3 separate regions of the Homo sapiens genome follow, and all the other regions are linked to region 2. Evidence: promoter capture Hi-C in 16 types of primary human blood cells and fetal thymus (Javierre and others, 2016). All regions are on one chromosome and are shown on one strand. The core of a region is centred on a gene start or on the middle of the fragment in contact, and the rest is flanking DNA. Distances in the headings are between cores, read along the strand shown.

Region 1 (4,117 bases), core at 622-3,121, 180 kb before region 2:
ATTTTAACATGAAATATATATAAAATAGAAAATCAAAACAAGACCTCATCTAAGATCATTTAAGCTCAGGGGATTTTCCTCTACCCACTTTCCTCTACCCAGTGTTGTGTTTTCTGTGGCACTGTTTACCAGTTAACAGGCCACTGAAACTCAGGATATTCTAATGCACATTCAGGACATAAATTGCATTAGTTGGGCAGTACTTGGATAAAACTAGGATGCTCCATGGTGTCTTACTAGATATCATAGGGGTAACATCATTTTGCTTATCATTTCATCAACACGTTTGTTAGAAAAGAGCCCATGATGATCTTACTTTTCTAGCTTACTTATATCACCTAACAGTTTTTGAAGTGCACTTAAGTGCCATTTGTTTTCGAAAAATAAAAAAGACATTAAACCACACCATAAGCCATAAGTACTAATAAAGGTTGATAGTTGGGTAAACTTATTGGGGAAACTCTAATTATTGCACGGTGCTCATGTGGGACTTTAATAAAGTACATTAAGAGTATAGGCCTGAACTGAAAATTTTCATTGAGAAGTTCATGAGAATAAAATAAAATCATAGGTGATTCTTTCCAACATCATTAAATATACCTTATTCTAAAAAAAAAAAAAAAAAAAAAAAGCATACATAGAAATCACATTCATACTTCATCTTGGGGTTTTCATCACATTATTTAACCTCTTTTCTTGATGTCCTTTAGGTGCATCCATTCTTGGTTGACAATGACATTTGCATAAAGCAGCCTGTTGGCTGCTGTCCTGTGAAGTCAACAGATATTCTAATTTTCCCTCATAGACTTATTGTTGACATATCTGGCTTTCCTCTTTCTAATTCAGGATATTATCTTTGGGTCTGTTTACTTGTGGAGGAGTTCAGTGCCATCTTTATTAAATTTTTATTGGCTCATTTGAGATTTAATATTGCCTTCCTGGGTTTCCATGCTGAGATTTATGAGGCAATAATTGACACCTTAATGATTGTGTTATTTTTTCTTTTAGAGTACGTGATAAATTCAGAGTATCTATGCTTATATAGCACCTTCCATTTATGGAGCTTTATGAGAAAAAAAAACAGCTCTCAGATTTTTATTTTTCTCTTTCATGCTTTCATCTGCCATCCTATGAGAGAGGGTCAGAAAGAACTGTAAAGAAATTTGCTCACCATTTTTCTTAGTAATTTGTAACTGCCACCCAGAATAAGAACTGTACACTGCAAGATACAGATGGAGAGAGACTCTTATGTAAAATATTCTCCTGTACAGGCTTTTCCAAATGTAATGCCCTCTTTTACTAAATCATTCATTTGGTATTTAGTCTTGTCTGTATAATACATTAATCTTTCCTAGGATATGACCTGGCTTCTCAACTATTTTATAAACTCTTTGAAAACCTAAAATTATTCTGTGGACATTCTGTGCATGAAACATGTTTGATAAAAAAAAATGTTTGATGCAATTGTCAATATAGTTTCACAAGTTTGAGGCACTGAAAGGTCACACAAAAGAACAGCAGCCTCTAAAATAGGACAGGGTTCTTTGAGCTCAAGACCATATGGCCTCTTTTGATGATTCAATCTTGGAATAAAATTTTTTTTATTTATGTATCTTTATGATAAATGAATTCTATAGAGCTTGAGAGGGCCAGAAAAGCTCCAGGTTCATGTCTGTGTGGGTCGTTTTCTCTGTGAATTAGATTTCATTTTATCTTCAATTGAATGTTTCTTAGAGTTTTCTATTGGTTGTAATATTTTTAGTAAGAGATAAAACACACTATTAGGTTTATTTTACAAAACCCAGACTTCAGAAACTGACACACACTGTTAATAGCACCTGTTTTTTGCCTCTGGGAAATGTCTGTTTTCATGAATAATATCTGCTTGCAGTAAACAGTGGCTCTGATGTCAGTATGGGATGCCCAGGGCTGATTCATCTTTCTCAGTTTGACATAATGCAAAGTGACTGACTGGTCCCTGTACTGCAGATGAGGAAAGCCTCTCAGATCTTCTTCTCTTCTCACTCCTAAAGGAATCAAGCCATGGCCCCTCTCAGCTCCTGGTGGTCTCCATTTTGCCTGAATTACGAGCAGGTGATTTGTCTCATCTTTGCAGGACACAGAGCAAATTAACATGAAAATATCGCTTCCCAGAAAACAAGGCAGGCTTGAATGCCCTGTCGCTGCTGGTCATTAGCCATCTGCCACCGACACTCATACTCTGTTTATCACATTTGAAATTCAGAGCAGATGTTGCATAATAAGGTGATCCCAAAAACAAGGCAAGAAATTCAAAGAACAAATACTCTACCATAATGATAAAGATCTTGGAAGGAAATTTTTTTCAATCTAATATCATAGCTGCACTAATTGAATAGACCATGTTTTTAAAAACACACACACATCTCTCCTGGTATTTGATGCAAACTACTTTTCATAGTAACAGGAAATAATTTTAAAAAGAAAGTACATTTGTGAAAGACACCTGAGAGGACTGTTCAATAAAGTCTCTTTAAAGAAGCAAAGTCGAATGTTGGAATAACATAGTTCTGGTTTAAAAGACCTCATAGATCAGTGATGCCATCTTTTACTGTAAGATGGGCCTTAACCTACAGCAATTTGACTTAAAATAGTTCACTCCTCACAGTATAGTAGATCTTTCAAGGCTTTTAACTTGCGAACGTGGTTTCCCAGTTTATTTTCTTTTTGGCACTCAAGACCCTGTGTTTTCTATATCCTTTGTTTTCACTGTTTACCCCTCTACAAACTCCCACCACCGCTATCAGCCTCCCACCTTCAGCATCCCTTGTCTCTCCAGAACTCTGCCCCAGCTTACCCTGGCCTTAGGCTCTCTCCAACCTGAGTCCCAAGATTCTTTCATTTTTAGTTCTTCTGCCCTTCTCCATTAATGTAGCTTTTTACAGTATTGGTTATTATAATGTTTTACCTAGTTGATTTATGCACATTGTAGACCCTTATTATGCCTTATTCAAAGTATATCACTTATAGTATATTAACTATGGTGTTTAGAGACATTCTGTTTTTTTTAAAAAACAGGCATCCAAACTTTTACCAGGAATGTGACCTATATTCTGTGGAAGACGAGCTTTTAATATAGTCTTTTGACTCCAAAGAAATATTTTCTCCACAGAAACCACAACTTTACTGCCCCTCCCCACTCTGCACCCCTCTGCCCCCACACATACTGAGAGTTTTGAAATTTGGGGTTTTTTTTTAAAGACTATACTGCTAAGCAAAAATTAAGCAGCCAGCCTGAGAGTAGACAGGGGGATAAATCAAAGCAGTGCCAGCAGCTGACCACTGAGTGGAATAGGAGAGATGATTTGAAGGATGGAAGAATAGTGAGTCAATACTGAGTATATTCCAAATTCAGGGGGAAATGTAGAGTGAGTGAGCTCTAACAACTGTGGGAGTTTATACTACTAAAGTCAGAAGCCCAGATCTAAAGTGTAGAGAGAAATAAAATCTTCAGTGTAACCTTTCTAATTAGTAAGATTTCAGTGTAATCTTACTAATAATTTCCATTTGTTTCCCTCTGCTCCAATCAGGAACATACATATTGTGCTTTCAAGTATCTTTCATTCCAAGGGAAAACTCAGTAACTCAAGCAACTTCTTAAAGGAGAACATTTTTATGCAGTCTAGATTCTGAAGACTCTCAGAAATAAATCCTTTTGCAAATTCCTAACCCTTATAGTAGCTGAAAATATCAGAAGAGAAAGAGGACAGAATTATGCATGTGTATGTATCCTAACAAAAAATATAACAGCTATTTAGTAGGTTTTTTAAAATCTCCAATCCTATAAAAAGCTACATTAATGTAAAAGAGCAGCAGAACTAAAAATGAAAGAATCTTGGGACTTAGGTTGGAGACAGCCTAAAGCCAGGGACTAAAAGGAAGCTGGGGCAGAGCTATGCAGAGCCAAGGGAACCTTTGGTGGGGTACAGGGGGTTGATAGTGGTGGTAGGGGGATAGGAAATATGGGTTTAAGAAAAGCTAGTTTCTTTCTAAAGGTACTGTAAGACTGACTCACTAAATAAATAATGACTCACTAAATAGGCAAATGACACTTAGATTCAGCTAATAACAGATAAGT
Region 2 (4,175 bases), core at 723-3,222:
TAGGCCCACTGCTAGGACAGAAATGTATTTATTAGCAGATCACACATGTGCAGAGAATGTGTAAAGATTTCTACTGTCACTGAATTATATCCTGAGAAGTCTTGGACTGATTTGTTCTTTATGTAGTCCACTCAGATGAGCTCCCGATAGCTCTTGCCATCTTCCTTATCTTCACAGGCCCCTGGTCATTTTCTTGTTTCTCTGTCCCCCCAGGGATTCACGTTTCATCCAGGAGGGGTTGTGTACACTCGCAGAGAGAGAGAGACTTCTAAAGGAAACACAACCTTTCTGTTGACTTATACCATATTTTTAAAAATCTCTGTGTTCTGTACAATCAGCCAACCAAGGAAGTGAAAGGTAAGAAGGAGCTGAAGAGGGAAAAAAAAAACTATATTCTCTCACAGGTATTATCATGCTTATCATGTTGGAGTATTAAAAATAATATCTGTCAAATGCCTAGAATATTTAAAACATGAAAAATAAGCCAGGAAAGAAAGAATAACTTAATATTAATAGGTTCTCCTCTTCCTCTTGTGTATAAAAAGAAGCCTGTCTTCAGTCAGAGTCCCCAGCTTAAGTCGGGGGTAATGGAGGAGGAGGAGAAATGAGAGACTGGAGGCCTCATTTTGGAAAGTGGGTTACTGAGGAAGAATCAACACTTAGTAGGGAGCAGAACCACCAAGGACTGCATGTGAGAGTTTGGAAAAGTTTTGAGACAGAAGATGGTAGTTGGGAGCATCTGTCATATAGTGTAGCATGAAAAATGCAGGGAGGGAGGGAGGCAGAGATCGGGAAAGATGATTTTAAAGCATGTTCTTGTATGTAATTAGTGTAATTCCCATTTTGCCATTTCCAAGAGTCCGGAGAAGATCCTAATTGATTTTCAACTACTTCCTAATGATACTTGCTAAGATGAACCCAGAGGGGTCGCTTTATCTATAAATACTTACTAAATATGATTATCTTCTCTGGAGCCCAGATCATCTTCCTTAAAGTTGCAGTGCAGTAGTGCCAATATTACGATATGCTATGCAGTAAAGTTGGCCCTGTGTGTGTTTATTGCCCTTACGAGTTTATAAACAGGCTCCTTGACGATAGGGATTTTTCTTAATCATCTTTGTGCCCTACCCAGCTCCAGCTTCCAGCCACCCAGTTAGTGAAAACTGTACAAACTACATGTTCAAAAATTAGTGTGAAATGAATGCACAGGTGATGAATGAATGGGATTGAAATTAAAGGGTGATTTCGTTAGCAGCGTCTATGACAGCACTGCCTTTCCCCCCACCAGCTGATGGGCTCCGTGAGGGACCAAGGCTCTTTGGTCCTCACTTTGTCCCCAGCACTTGCACTCTGTCAAGCACAAAATAAGCATCGGGAGAATCTTTGTGTCCCCTCGAATGAGTATTTCAGTGTATCAAGAATGGAAGAAAGGCCAAGCGCAGTGGCTCATGCCTGTAATCCCAGCACTTTGGGTCGAGGCGGGCGGATCACTTGAGGTCAGGAGTTATAGACCAGCCTGGCCAACGTGGTAAAACCCTGTCTCTACTAAAAATACAAAAAATTTAGCCCGGCGTGTTGACGGCCGCCTGTAATCTCAGCTACTCGGGATGCTGAGGCAGGAAAATCGCTTGAACCCGGGAGGTGGAGGCTGCAGTGAGCCTAGATCGTGCCACTGCACTCCAGCCTGGGCGACGGAGCGAGAGTCTGTCTAAAAAAAAAAAAAAAAAAAAAAAAAAAAAAAAGAATGGAAGAAAGCAAAACAATCCAAGGCCAAACTGAAGCGAGCTGCCTTGGTGGGGCTCCGGTGCAGAAGCGCAGCGTCGCCTGCTCTTGGGTGCCTAATGAACGACCGGACTCCTGCAGGCGCTCCGCCAACTGCAGCGATCTCTGGAGCCGGCCTGTCCTCCACAGAGATAGGGGGCGCTGTAGCAGAGCGCGGCCGTCGAGTCCGCGTGGTGCCGCTCTCTAGGCGGAGTGGGGAGGCGGCAAGAGGACCTGCGGCAGGCCCTCTTCGGCAGTCTCTCCGGCCCGGTTTCCCTCGGCGTGCTACTGTGCGCTCGATCCAGCACCATGGGGAAGCGGGACAATCGGGTGGTGAGTACTCAGCCGGGAAAACAGTGGGGCGACGCAGGGCCCGGCGGCAGGACAGCGAGAACCCTCGCTGTTCCCGGCCGGGCCGGAGGGCAAGCGGCAGCCCTCAGACGTGGGGCCTGGAGACCCAGCACCCTCCGCCGATCCCAGATGCGCGTGCGCCGCGCACGCAGTTGGCGCTTTAGGGTTCCCAGCTCTCTCTTGCCCGCCCCTTTTTTCTTCCCTCACCTCGTCGCTCTTTCTGGCGCTGCTGGTTTGCACTCTTGCCTGCTGTACGCGGGCCCCCAGTGCCCACTTAGAACCGCGAGGGCTCGGGGAACCCCCCCCACACCTGGCCCCGCCATGTAACTCCGAAGACTTAGGCCCTTGGACGCATCCGACTCACCCGCCCCTTGGTATCGGCCGCCCCAGGTCCGCACCCCTCTCCTGCGCACCCAAGTGGGAGGGAGGCACAGAGGCCTCGACGCGGTCCCTGTGCCGGAGAGCCAGCAGCGCGCCTGGTTTTAGCGACAAGCAGGCTCCCGTTTGAAAATGGGATGGCAGCATTTGCTTTCGTGTCTCCAGCGCCCTGTAGGACCTGGCCCCCATAGACACTGTGAGGGAATGAATGGCGTGAAAATAGTTGGCTTTCGAGTCCAACACAAAACTGGAATGTCAGTTTTGTTCCGTCGGAAGTTGGGTGACCTAGAACAAGTTACTTTTCTTCTCTGTGCCGTCGTTTATAAAAGGGGATCATTATTATCTACAACCTTACAGATTAATTGAAATCACAAAAGGCAAGATGTGTGAGCGAGTACTGGGCATGAAAATTATTACTCTAGTGAATGAGATAAAAGAGATGCATAAATAACTTACAGCAGAAAGAGTAGGAAATGGTCCTTGATAGTTGTTAGAGATTCTAAAGGCATTCAAAAGAAAAGGTGCTTTTGAGAAGCGGAGATGGGAGGAAAGTATTCTAGACCGCTGGGGCGGGGAGGGGGCTGAAAAACTCAGGTTATGAATCAGATTGAATGAGTAGTAAACATAATGAAATAACAATAAGCTTAGGTTGCAGCCTGACAATTTCTGGGCTTGCCTGTGACAAAGTTTTAGCCACTGAGTAGCAAAATGAGGAAAATGCACGTAAAACGAATGTGCTACGTTTCTTGAACTCGCTTTTTTATTCAACAATTATTTGCAAGCTGTGTGTGTCTCACACCAAAGGAGACTTAACATTTACGAAATGATGACACTTGCCATCTGTAGTAGCCAGTTCTTGCATGGCTTTTATAAAGAAAAACCTGAGGCTGGGTAATTTATAAAGAAAAGTGTTTAATTGGCTCACGGTTCTATGGGCTGTACAGGAAGCTTAGCGGCATCTGCTTCTGGGGAGGCCTCAGGGAGCTGTTACTCATGGTGGAAGGCAAAGCAGGAGCAGGCGTCTTACATGGCAGGAGCGGGACCAAGAGAGGGACGGGGAGAGTTGCTACACAGTTTTAAACAACCGCATCTGTTGAGAAATCATCTCTATGCAGTGCTGGGGAGAGGAGGATGCTAAGCCATTCATGAGAACTCCGCCCCCATGATCCAGTCACCTCCCACCAGGCCCCACCTCCAACATTGGGGATTACAATTCGACATGAGATTTGGGCGGGGACACAGATCCAAACCATTTCACCATCTTAAAAACTTTGTAGTTCTGTATAGTCTTTATAATGGAAAATGTCTAGGAACCACTGTGGTAGTGAATCTTGATTACAAGATAGCGGGTTGTTCTTTCTCCTGGCTGTAGGTGAGACTTTGTTGTGCTATCTTGATTGTCATGGCGTTGAAATTATGTAGCATAACACCATTTCAGCATAGGAGCATCCTTAGGTGTTTGAGTATTTTGGGCTCTTCTAATACCCTTGGGCCTTGAATGTTTAGAGATCACCTGACCTTGGATGCAGTTTCATATACAGACCTAAAATGTTTCATATTACTGAAAAAACGTTTTGGTTGAAACATTCCTCTAAAACATTTGAAAAACTTACCAAATTAGCTTCATTTACTAGAACATTTTGATAGCTCTGGGCTCTACTTACTACTTTTGGTATGCAGCTATG
Region 3 (4,447 bases), core at 310-2,809, 220 kb before region 2:
GTCCACTCTTTTATTCCTGATATTGGTAATTTGCATTTTCCTCTTTTTATCTTGACATACAGATAGAGTTTTGTCAGTTTTATTGATGATAATCCAGTTTTTTGTTTCATTAATTTTCACTTCTGTTTGTCTGTGGTCTCTTGATACTTATTTTGTTTTTATCTTCTTTTCCTACTTACATTGGGTTTAATTTGTTCTTAGTTTTAGCTTCTTAAAATAGAAGCTTGGATCTTCAAATATATGCATCTTCCCACAAATTTGAATATGTTGTGGCTTAATTTTCATTCAATTTGGGTTATTTTAAGCCATTTTTAGTTATATATTCTTTAATCCATGGATTCTTAAATTTCCAAACATGTAAGGGATTTTTCTAATTTCTTTCTGTCTAATTCTGTTGTGATCAGAGAACAATTCTGTATGATTCTAATACTTTTTAAAGATAGTAACACTTGCTTTGGTCCAACATATAGCTTATCTTGGTACTTGTTCCATTTGATTTTTTATTTATATATTTCCAATTTTCTCCTCACTGTGTCCATGTTTTCCTTTAAGGCCTTGGGCATTTTTGTAGTGTTTATAATAGTTTATTTAATTTCTTTGTCTGCTATTCCATAAGTTCTGTCATTTCTGAGTCTATTTCTATTGACTGATTTTTCTCCTGCTTATGGGTCATGTTCTGTATGGCTGCATGTCTAATAATGTGTTATTGGATGCCAAACATTGTGACTATGACATTGTCAACTGCTGGATTTTGTTCTACTCCTTTAAAGAGAATTGGATTTTGTTCTGGCAGGCAGTAAAGTTATGTGTGGTTCAGTTTTATACTTCCAAGGCTTATTTTTAGTTTGTCTCTTTTGTTGTTGGGGAGAGGATCTAGTGTATGTAGGCTTTGCTTCCAGGCTAGTTTAGCCCTACTAAGACATTACTCTTTTGTAGTCTCTCTTCTTTGGCTGGTAAGGAGTTTGAAACATTTTCTGCCCTCTGTGAGCTCTGGAATCATTCATCTTACAACTCCTTGGTGATCTTTTCTCAGAAGCTGACCTTTCTTGACTTCATGCAGTTCCACATGTGTAGCTTAATATTCAGCCAGGGACTCAATAGACCCCATGTAGATTTCTGGAGCTCTTCTTCAGTATTGTGTCTTCCAAATTTTAGCCACTTTGGCCTCCTTGTCTTCTCAACTCTGATCTCTGCCTACCCAGCTGGGCAAGACTACAGAATTTACAGAACTCTGAGGTTCCTCCTTCCTGTACCTGTGGTCTGGAAATTGCCTCCAAACAGAAAGCTAGGGCAATCTAGGGCTCACCTCATTTGCTTCCCCTCTCTCAGGGATCACAGTCCTCTACTACCTATAGTCCAATATCTGAAAGCAGTTGTTTCATATGTTTATCTAGTTTCTAGTTGTTTCTGGCAGGTAAGAAGTCTGGACCTTCTTGCTCCCTTACTGCCTTGTATGTCCATTAGTTTTTATAAAGACTGGTTAGCTAGTAAGACTATTAAATAGGATCTTTTCCTCCCTGCTGGCTCTCATTTCTGAGTAAAATTTTTGGGAGACTTGTTTGGCATAGGAATCTTGGGATGGGAGTATGCTTCACAGGCTTTACTTTTGGGTGGCTGGAAAAATGGCTGTCAGGATGTGGAAAAACTCTCAAATGTCACAATAAGAAATGGTTTACTCCAAGATCTTAGGTACAGGGATGGCAATAGGAATGCTAACTGGTGCAGTTACCCTATATACAGACATTTAGTTGACTCCCCTGAATGTGGGAAGAAAATGGCTGCCCTTCTTCCTCCCTTTTTCCATTGCACCTGTTGACTCGTAGTCCAGCTTCTGCTTCCTCCACGGTGCCCTCATGGCTTGTTCTAGGGCAGTGGCCTCCCTTCTAGTAAAAATATTTGAGCATGTCACTGATATTCACTGAATTATAAAAATTATGTACATATACAGATATATTATTATATATTTAATAAAAATAATGATTTTGAAATGAAGGGGTACAAAATACCTAAAAATAGAAGATATTTTCTTAATACATCTCCTGATTATATGTTCTTCACTTTGGAGACTACTATCTCTTTGGTGACTTCTTCCATCACCTTATTTCTGTTTATTTTCAGTCACCCAGCAAATTTACTAAATTCTCTCCTTTTTGTGTATGTGGGACGCCCTTTTGTAATTATGGGTTTATTTCTTTTACTGAGAAAGAATGGAGGCAAATATTTGTGATAGGTCCACCATTTTGAACTGGAAGTCTGATTACACTTCTTAAAATAAATTTTTGAATAATCAAAATGTCTTTTTTTTTTTTTTTTTTTTGCAATTCAGTTTGCTTTCCTGGTTGGGAGCAGAAGGGCTGCAGCCCAAGAATTGCTTATTACCTGCGGGAAGTTTTTGTTATGCAGCAGTTCTTAAATTTGGGTAATGTCAAAGGGCATGTGAACCAAGGAAGTTGTCTGCTAATTTCACCAGAAGCAAAAAAGTTTAAGAACAGCTGCTCTGGAGAAATATTGGGATCACATGAGATATACTTTTCCCCTATTTATTCCACATTCCTTAATTTAGAGGACAGTATAACCATCTGGAGAGGATCCATAATTGAAGAAAGAACATTGTTTCATTCTTCTGTTGCTGATTGCACCTGGCTATATAAATTCATTGTCATCTTCTAGGTTTTCATACTGTTGATATACCATCCCTGAAACCAACAGCTGATATAAATTGTAACATAGAAAAGCTAATTTGACATCATATTGGGAATGTTAGCCAATTGATTTTTCTTAAGGGAAACAAACTGAAAAAATAAGCCCACTATGAATTAATTCTTTGCAGGAAATTCCCATGTCTGATTATTTAAAAGAATAAATTCTGCATGCAAATGAATCATTACAAGCTTAATTGAAGCTTGCGGGATACTCAAGTTTACTCACTGTGGTGTGTTTTTGATGGAGACAGGAAGTGAAAAAGCAAGGTCTATGAGACTTTTTTTTCCTATGAAGTCTCAGCCAGTCTTTTAATGTTTCTCATTGAGAAACTTTGGTTGGGAGGGTAAATGACTCAAGGTATCTATTGCTGCTTAGCCGTTTTTAAGGGGGCATTTCCCCCCATGTTCCTCCCCTCCCCAAAATAGCTAATTATGTACTGGAAGTTTCAATACATTGTTCACAGTTTGTGAAGTCAGCATATTTCTGGAAGCTCACTGTGAATGTAATTCTTAACTGTACAAATGCTTTTGTTTCTCCATCTCTGCAGCTAGCTCTGTACTGTAAGGACACAATTCTATCGCTATTTTTTCCCTCACATTTGATGTGGTAGTTTGCATACAGCTGCAGAGTAGACAGTTACCTTTGAAAGGAACATTTGGCTGCTCTAATTTGATTAAAGAAAACCACCTCAATCATTTCTAGACTGAGAACGTTTTCATTTTAACTTGGCAGTAGGAGTTGGGAATGTACTCATTGCACTTAGATATGTGGGGGACCAGTTAGGGAACAAAACCAACTGCTTGAATGAAGAAAGCTTTGGTGCATTTTTTTTTTAAAAGCAAGCAGTATGATTCCCTTTCTGTTTCCCTCTCAAATTCTCTACAACCTTGATTTTCACCTCCATCTTCTTTTCACGGTTATTTACTTTGTAATTCCAGTAAACGAATTCTGGCAGGAATAGACTGCTACCCTAAAGTGATTTGTGATTTAAAGGACTTCAGGGTCCTTAAAAATTATCCCATTTTACATAGAAATAAAATCCCAAATCATGAATTACTATGAATTGCATATATTTTCTTGGCCACTGTTGAGAAAGGCAAAAAAAGTTGTTAGATCATGGGTGTACAGACCAAGGCTGGGAATTTAGTTGTAACTTACTTAGAAGAAAATTGCTCCTTGTCAGAAGGCTGCAGTCAACTCACATATATGCCCTTTGTTTCTGACATAGAAGAGGGTCTGATCACCAAATTAGTATGACAATTAAAAATAAATTCTGGTGATTGTGAATTGGCATCAACTTTATATATGTTTTTAGAAATGATTGAGCAGTGGTTAATGTCTGTACGGTAAACCATGAACAAACTTTTGAACCACAGCTCAGTAATTCAATATATGATATCCTTGTGAAAGGTACTGTGCTGTCATCTTAAAAAGTTTGAGTGTGGGCCAGGCACAGTGGCTCATGTGTGTAATCCCAGCACCTTGGGAGGCTGAGGTGGGAGGATTGCTTGAGGCCAGGAATTTGAGACCAGCCTGGGCAACGTAGTGAGACCTCATTTCTACAAAAAATATTTCCTAAAATTTAGCCAGGTATAGTGGCACTCACCTCTGGTCCCGGCTACTCTGGAGGCTGAGGTGGGAAGATCAAGGCTTGAGCCTAGGAGTTTGAGGCTGCAGTGAGCCATGATCACACCACTTGACCCCAACCTGGGAGACAGAGCAAGACCCTGTCTCAAAAAAAAAA

The links. The method cuts DNA at HindIII sites, captures the fragments that hold promoters and counts their contacts. A CHiCAGO score of 5 or more calls a contact.
Region 1: a fragment that was not itself captured here is called in contact with the fragment with the promoter of FAM133B in region 2 in 1 of 17 cell types (neutrophils); the score reaches 5.1 in neutrophils.
Region 3: a contact is called between a fragment that was not itself captured here and the fragment with the promoter of FAM133B in region 2, in 3 of 17 cell types (neutrophils, fetal thymus and total CD8 T cells). The highest score is 5.7, in neutrophils.

The regions. Positions count from the first base shown.
Region 1 is chr7:92,766,834-92,770,950 of GRCh38, reverse strand. All of the region lies in intron 3 of CDK6 (cyclin dependent kinase 6), which reads left to right. Among named protein-coding and RNA genes, the nearest start is that of CDK6-AS1, 68 kb to the left of the region's middle. RefSeq lists an enhancer at 1,871-2,410. The HindIII fragment of the contact is 8,013 bases long and covers 1-4,117 here.
Region 2 is chr7:92,588,187-92,592,361 of GRCh38, reverse strand. FAM133B (family with sequence similarity 133 member B) reads left to right here and starts at 1,972. Exons shown (of 11, transcript NM_152789.4): 1 at 1,972-2,094. The coding sequence starts at 2,071. LOC105375397 (a long non-coding RNA gene) reads left to right here. Exons shown (of 3, transcript XR_927744.3): 3 at 214-342. RefSeq lists enhancers at 1,815-2,094, 2,185-2,244. The HindIII fragment of the contact is 8,062 bases long and covers 1-3,135 here.
Region 3 is chr7:92,812,426-92,816,872 of GRCh38, reverse strand. All of the region lies in intron 2 of CDK6 (cyclin dependent kinase 6), which reads left to right. Among named protein-coding and RNA genes, the nearest start is that of CDK6-AS1, 22 kb to the left of the region's middle. The HindIII fragment of the contact is 2,668 bases long and covers 226-2,893 here.